Linked DNA regions of Homo sapiens: region 2 is linked to region 1. Evidence: promoter capture Hi-C in 16 types of primary human blood cells and fetal thymus (Javierre and others, 2016). All regions are on one chromosome and are shown on one strand. Each heading gives the region's core, a stretch centred on a gene start or on the middle of the fragment in contact. The rest is flanking DNA. Distances are from core to core; before and after follow the strand shown. Region 1 holds the start of STARD13 (StAR related lipid transfer domain containing 13). Region 2 overlaps PDS5B (PDS5 cohesin associated factor B).

What was found. Contacts are between HindIII fragments. The CHiCAGO score rates a contact against its expected background, and 5 or more counts as called.
Region 2: a fragment that was not itself captured here is called in contact with the fragment with the promoter of STARD13 in region 1 in 1 of 17 cell types (endothelial precursors); the score reaches 5.0 in endothelial precursors.

Annotation. Positions count from the first base shown.
Region 1 is chr13:33,283,941-33,287,966 of GRCh38, reverse strand. It overlaps STARD13 (StAR related lipid transfer domain containing 13), which reads left to right and starts at 2,212. Exons shown (of 14, transcript NM_178006.4): 1 at 2,212-2,497. The coding sequence starts at 2,329. RefSeq lists enhancers at 1,910-2,039, 2,050-2,109. The HindIII fragment of the contact is 3,531 bases long and covers 1,388-4,026 here.
Region 2 is chr13:32,644,773-32,648,798 of GRCh38, reverse strand. PDS5B (PDS5 cohesin associated factor B) reads right to left here. Exons shown (of 35, transcript NM_015032.4): 2 at 1-45. The coding sequence starts at 26. Among named protein-coding and RNA genes, the nearest start is that of PDS5B, 60 kb to the right of the region's middle. RefSeq lists an enhancer at 2,519-2,628. The HindIII fragment of the contact is 2,822 bases long and covers 266-3,087 here.

The DNA of each region.
Region 1 (4,026 bases), core at 963-3,462:
TGCTCTCCAAAGCTATAAAAAGCTACGTATTTTTTCCTCACCTTTACCTTTTTACCTTTTCCTCACCTTTACTTGGTTTCCCAGAACATGTTCAATGTTCTCAAGTCCCATGCTCCCCTCTTCTTTCTCTCTCCACCCTCCTTCCATTCTCTTCCAGTAAAAAAGTGATAACCACCAAGTGTCTGCCTTGAACAAAAAGTTATGACACAGATGCTCCCAGTGTTGGACCATCAAGCCGAAAGCACGTGCACAAAGCAGCTGATGCAAGCACCTTAATTGGACGGCCACCGGTGCGGACTGAGCTGGGCTCATGAACCTTCCAGGCAGCCAACTTTGCAATATGGTGCTCGACCTTTCTCCATTCGAGCTTCTGCCGAGCAGTTCCTTAGGTCTCAGATCCCTTTCACCTTCCACAGACGATGCTATGGAACAGAAAAACTGCTGCTCAAATCCTAAATAAGAATGGAAAGTGCACAGTATGGCCCCATAGATCTTTCTTTCCCTTCCTGCCATGAAGCCAACCTGAAAACAAAGACATGATGACTCTTGTGTAACCACCCGAAGAGGCTGACAATTACCAACTACGTGAGGTAGTAGGCAATTGTCACATGCTGGGCTGCAGAGATCGTGCTTAACTTGTTTATTCTCATAGCGGGACAGTTATACAAGACGAGCTGCTTCTCAGAATCAGGCTAGCAACAATTCCCTCAGGGAAAGTTGTTAAGGCTTATGGGCCTCGGAGAGCCAGAGTAAGAAGAATCAAAGTCCTAATTTAAATCCTGTTAAACTTTTAATTTGGAAATAATGTAGAAATAATTTCTCATTATTAGACTATAAATTCCCAGCCAGGCTATGTTTCCGTCAGCCAAATGTAGAAGCAACTTGGTCATATACTTTTTGTATCAAAGAACTTTATTCTTTCAGCCCCAGGCTCAGAATTTGATAACATGTTTTCTGTGGACTTTTTCTCTTCACATCAAACAATGTTAAAGAAGAAAAACAGGGAAAATTATAATGACATATACATATATGTCACTCAGTGTGTGTATGTATATATATACACACATATATACACATATATATACACACATATATATATACACGTATATATATACACACACACTCAGATATGGCCAAACTGAATTACTAGCAGTTTGCTTAAACCATATACTCTGGTTCTGGATCTGCACACATGGGTACCTACAGTCTCTTGCAAAGCCCTCCCCAGCCTCTGCCTATCAGAATTCCCCCCATTTTAAAAAGCCTATCCAAATGTCTCTTTCTCTATCTGGCTTGCAATCATCACCCCAGTCAAAAATAATATTGCTCACCTAGCATTGTGTTTGCGTCCTTTTTGAGACATATATATGGCCTCATGTTAGAAGCTTTTGTATAACTTCTCAATGGGTCCTTAGCAGGTTGATGACAGTATCTTTGAAGTACCTTTGCAACTTCTGCAGTGATTCTTGTCTTAAATGATTCAGTGTCTTAAATGTGATAGGCACCTTCTAAGTATTTTACCTCTAGGTGATTAAAAATTGGGGAAGTAGAGAAATCAAAGAGGAAAGGATGCTTAATACGTAACGCGTGTGTACTTTGCCTCTCTGAGTCTTATCTGTAAGAGCCCTCCAATTCCCATCACGTGAGGGTCAGGATCTGTGGTGTATTCACTCCTGGTGTTAAAGCCCTTGAAGTTTATTTTTCACTGGAAAAGTTTTTATTTGAGTTGTTTCTTGATAATGAAGGTGGTGGCTTACGCTCAGCTGTTGATGCTTGTTTGAAGTAGTTTTTTTTTGTTGTGTTGTGTTTTTTAAATTTAAGAGATTTATCAGGTCCATCTTTTACCTGGCTGCTGCTGCCCTGTAGAAAGCGAAGGAGCTTTCTCTAACTTTGACAGGCTGAAAAGTTTCCTGAGCCCTGGACTTGTTTGTCTTCTACTTGTTTTGCCCTTCCCTCTCTCTTTTTCTTTCGACTCCTTTAGTGAGGGCTGCTTTTGGGTGCTTCGTCAGCTCTGAGGCACGTCAAATACGTGTATTTTGCTTTCAGCGTTGTGTGAGGGACCCTGGCGGCTGGAACTGCCTCTGGTCGGGGCTTAGGGCTGACTGCAAACGTTCCCATTTTCCTCTCTTCCTCTCATTGGTTCCCGAGGTCACGTGAGGGCCCCGGGGGTTGGAATTCTGAGTTGTGGCTTTGGCACTCCTCTTTCTTTTTAAAAATCGCTGGGTCTGTTGAGCTGTCCTGGGCTGGGTGCCTTGCTCTTTGACTGAGACTGGAGACAGACGGCAACAGCCACAGGCAGACTGAGGTGGCAATAGGAAATCTGCCGAGATGTTCAGTCAGGTGCCCAGGACCCCAGCCTCAGGCTGCTACTACCTAAATTCCATGACACCTGAGGGCCAGGAGATGTACTTGCGATTTGATCAGACTACAAGACGCTCTCCTTACAGGATGAGCCGGATTCTAGCACGCCATCAGCTAGTGACTAAAATTCAACAAGGTGAGTGGCCGGCAGTGGAAGGCTGTTGCTCATTCTGATTTCTGTTGGCTCTATTTCATGCTAACCCAGTTTTTTTTGTTTGTTTGTTTCCACTTTATAACATATGGATTTCTATGCCACACTACCCGTAACTTTGAAAAATAACTTTAGGCTGCAGTTTTCAGCAAACAGGACAGTCCTTAGCTGCCACATAGCTCAACATAAAGTGCACAAAAAACTTCACGGTGGGACAGTGAATCATAAATTCCCAAACTGACGTGTGTCTACAGAACAGATGAGAACTGTTACTCAGTGTGTATCTTAGGAGCTTTTCTGCAGTTTCCTCACACTCCGTCACATTTAAAATGTGGACACTTGTTTATTTCATTAGGGAGGAGGCGAGGGACTAATGTCCACCCTGCCCAGAGTATTTCGAATATCCTTAGTGAAGAGGAGGAAAGCAAGAATTCTGTTCTAAAGGCCACCAGGCTAAGCACTAGAATCGCATTCTCTTCCTGTTTGTATGTTTATGTCAGCAGTTGCCACAGATGTGTTAATATTGTTTTCCTGGTAGAGAATTAAGGTGTTCGTTCATCTCAAAACAAATCCCGTAACCTGCACACAAAACTCCAGCTTCCTAATGCAAAGAGAAGAGAATATTGATTATAAGCTGCTTGATATTCTTTTTATTCCCAGCCCCTCAAAATACCAGCCTGGAAGTCTGGACATTACTAAAATTTACCAGTCTCAAAAAAAAAAAAAATTTAAAACATGCTCCTTATAGGGTATATCAGTAGAAAGCAGAAAGACGAACATTCCTAAGAAGCCCCTAACACACACGTTTACAGTCAGTTAATGATCACCCTCCTCCTAGACTACAAAAAAGAAATTATTATATTGGTGCTAAATAAGTTAACCAGGAATTTTTAGAGCCGTTCCTAAGAAGCCCCTAACACACGTTGACAGTCAGTTAATGATCACCCTCCTCCTACACAACAAAAAAAGAAATTATTATATTGGTGCTAAATAAGTTAACCAGGAATTTTTAGAGCCATTATAAAAATACAGTTTCCACTTAAATAAATGAGTTTAAGATTATATTGAATATTAAAGAGGAAGTTGGGGTTTGTAATCATGAAAATCTTATTGTAATGTTTCCAGAAAGAACAATATGTATTCTAGCGGGCAGCATTTGATGAGATTGTTTCCTTGGAAATTAGGATTTGTTTGTAAAGGTTCAGGAACTAGTTATGTGTGAAGGATGCTGGTCCTTCCTACATGCTGGTCTGATTTCAGGAAGGATATTATGTCATTGCATAAACTCTGTGTCCAGGTCTTGATTGAATAGAAACAAAAGTAATTATTTCCCTGTGGCTAGATTTAAAAATACTTTAGGCTTAGAATAAAAACCAGCTCCACTTTGGTTTTAGAAATTTCTGACAATGGTGCCTTTCCAAATGCCATCATCTTTATGAACACCGAGGCTTAATGATGCGCTATCATCTACAAGATATAAATGTTCCTCAGCATGCATATCATATGAGAAATAT
Region 2 (4,026 bases), core at 427-2,926, 640 kb after region 1:
TTGGTCCTAGTCTTTGAATGAGCCATGACAGAAATATTTCTACCCCTGAAACAAGAAAACTATTAGATGCAAACCAAAAAATAGATATAAACATTCTTAACAAACATAAATGGTAACCTTCCCCACCAACCAAAATTTGTAACTACCTCCTAATTTATAGTAATTTACTTTACCATTTAATGAAAATCACTCTATTGAACATTTCCCCAAATTATTTTTAGAAAAACAAAACTTATTTTTACTTTCATTTCCTCAGTGGCAAGCTTTGTTATTTGTCCTAACCCTCCAACTAAAAATAATAATAATAATAGTAAGCTAGAGAAAAATAAAAAATAAATACTTTTTAAAAGCACCACAAAGTACTCAAACTAAAACCTAAGAGAAAATAGGAATCCAGGGAAGTAAGTGGGAACACTGGGACATTATAGCTACTTATACTCTGAAAGCATTTTTCATTTCTGACAAATGTGGGATTCAGTTTTGATGGTCTTATAGGGCAAGGGGAACAGAAGTAAATCTGAACATATCAAGGCAGACAGTCAAATAGGAAACTCTCCTGACATTAATGTAGGCCACCACCCTACCCAAAGAAGATATACCTGCAAAGGAGAGGGTAAACTAGAAATGAACACCTCTTTTCCCCAGCCCCACCCCCTAGAGGGAACCGCTGAGAAGGCTGCCTTGGTGCTAAACAGAGAAAGGCAACATGAATACAGGGAAGGAACAGGTAATTAGTTTTGGCCATGGGCCTGCACACTTGCTGGGGCTGACATGACCTAAGTGGCCCAGAGAATCTCAAAACATGAACTCACAGACCCCTGGTTAATAACAGCCCCAAGCACCTAACATAAGTAAATCCAAGTCCTGCCTAGAGAAGGGTGCCTTCATCCTAAGTATCAAAGAATCCCCACTATGATGTTTCTAGAACAATGAGCAAGTATCAAGTCAAAAATAACCAAGCAACTATGAGGGAGAACCAGCAGAAATACCACACAACAAAAACAGACACAATTTTTGTGTCTATCAAAGACTGTAAAACTACTATAATCTTAAAGAAATAAAAGACAATTCCAAAAATATCTACAGGAAACAAAAAAAATTATAAAGACTAAACTAGAAGATTTTTTTTAAATAGAACTTCTAAAAATGAAAAAATACAATTACTGAAATTGAAAATTCAACAGGTCAATGTATTCGCAGATACGAAAAACCATTAAAGGCCAGGTGGGATTGCTCACGCCTGTAATCCCAGCACATTTGGGAGGCCAAGGCAGGCCTTTTGAGCTTAAACTTTGAGCTCCAAAGTTTAAGAACAGCCTGGGCAACATACCAAAATCCCATCTCTACAAAAAATACAAAAATCAGCCAGGTGTGGTGGCACACCCCTGTAGTCCCAGATACTCGGGAGGCTGCAGTAGGGGAGCTGCTTGAACCCAGGAGGTAGAGGTTGCAGTGAGCTGAGATTGCGCCACTGCATTCCACCTGTCTCAAAAAAGAAAGAATGAAGTGAAAGAAAGGTCATAAGAAATTATCCGGAGTGCAACACAGTGAAACATACACCTGAAATACATAAGGATAGAAAGGCCTAAATGTAGCCTACAATTCATGGAAGTTATAGAGAGAGAAGAATGAGAGATTCACTCATGGGATTCATGAGAGTACCAGAAGGACTAGATTGAAGCAGAGGCCAAATACCTACAGAGAATATCATAAAATACCAACCTACAAATTCAGTAAGCCAAACAGGGTTAAATTTAAAATAATAATAATTCCAGAAAACAAACAAAATTTAGAGCACACACAGTACCTTGAAAGGAATAGCATTTAAACTAACAGGTGACTTCTCAACAGCAACAACATAAGCCAGAAGACAGCAAAATGTTATCTTCAAAGCAGAGAAAGAATATAACTGCAAATCTAGAAGTTTACAACCAAGGAGTATAATTTTTAAGTGCAGAGTAAAATAAGGGCAAATTAGCCAAATGAAAACTAAGAGGTGTAAGTATTTATATATAAAGTACCTACAACATTGCTTAGCACATACTAAGTACTATATGTGTATGTAATATACACAATCAGGTTAAAAGAAAAGATTTTTAAATTTCAACATAAACACCTTAAAAGACAATGAAAAAAGTGGATACATGCTGAAAGTAAAAGGATGGAAAATTATGTCATGCAAACACTAAAACCCGTTAAGCTAAATATCAAGTTAAAAAAAAAAAAGATAAATAGGCCCCAGATTCACTCTGTGGTATTTACTCAATAGAAACGTATAGTTTGTCCACCGTAAGACATATAAAAAAATGTTCACAGCAATACCATTCAGTTGCCAAAACAGAAAACACAAATGACCATCAACACTAGAATGAATAGCAATTTGTAGTATAGTCATACAATGGGGGCAAAAAAAAAAAAAAAAAAAAAAACACAGCCATGAGAGAATAAATCATTGCCTCACACAATAATATGGATTAACATTACAAACATCTGGATGGGCATGATGGTTCACATCTGTAATCCCAGCATCTGGGAAGGCTAAGGCAGGTGGATCACTTGAGCCCAGGAGTTCAAGACCAGCCTGGGCAATACAGTGAGACCTCATCTCTACAAAAAATAAAAATAAATTAGCCAAGCATAGTGGTGTGCACCTGTGGTCCCAGCTACCCGGGAAGCTGAGGTGGAAGTCCTGCTTAAGCCCAGGAAGTCAAAGCCACAGCAAGCCATGATCACACCACTGCACTCAAGCCTGAATGACAGAGTGGACCTTGTCTCAACACACACCACACACCACACACCACACACCCACACACCCACACACACACATCAAAGTGAAAGAAGCCAGACACAAAACACTACATAAGAGTATGATTACATTTATAAGCTCGAAAACAGAGAAACCTAATCTATGACAGTAAAAGTCAGGACAGTGATGTTTTGGGAGACAAATGTTAACGGAAAAAGGGGTGAAAAGATACTTCTAAGATGCTAGTTACACAAGTATTTTCACTTTGTGTGAAGTCATATAGAGCTAAAGACATAAGTTTTACACTTTCCTGAATGTATGTTATACTTCAACAAAAAGCTTAACAAAACAGATAACAAGAAAAGCTCCAGACATTTACATTTTTTAAAGCACTTCTTAATAATCAATGAATCAAAAGAAAACAAGCGTAGGATCAACAAAGTCAAAAATCACAGGTCAATCTTATAAATTTGATAATATAACATTTGAAAATGTAGATAAAGCTGAGAAACTACATCTTATTACCAAAACTAACTCAAGAAAGAAAAAAATGATTAAGAAACAAAATCAATCATTAACAGATCTTTCCACAAGGAAAAATATCCAAGTCTAGATGGCTTTACTAGTGAGTCCTGTCAAATAAAGGAAGAAATATTTCCCATGTCATACAAATAGTTCCAAGAAATGAAAAACAAGGGAATCCTTCCCAACTAGTTTTAAGCAACTAATTAGCATAACTCTGACAACAAAACCCAATGAGAACTATCAGAGGCCAGGCACAATGGCTCCTGTCTGTGATCCCAGCACTTTGGAAGGCTGAGGCAGTAAGACTGCTTAAAGCCAGGAGTTCAAGACCAGCCAGGGCAACAAAGCGAGATCTTGCCCCTACAAAAAAATTAAAATGAATAAAAAATTAGCCAAGTTGAGGTGACAAGATCACTTGAGGCCAGGAGTTCAAGGATGCAGTGAGCTATGATTGTGCCACTGCACTCCAGCCTAGGCAACACAGTGAGAGTCTGTATCTGAAAAAGGAAAAGAAAAAAGAAAAGAACAATCAGAGAAAATAAATCACAGACAAATCTTAATCATAAATGCAAAACTCCTAAACAAAATATTAGGAAACCAAATGCAGCAATATATTCATAAGTGTTTATCCCGGGAAGGCAAGGTTAAATTCATCACATCAACAGGCTTAAAAAGAAAATCATATTTAAATTATATACTAAACAGATTTTTTCAAATCTCAATAAATTAAGAAAAATTTGGTAAATTCAACAACT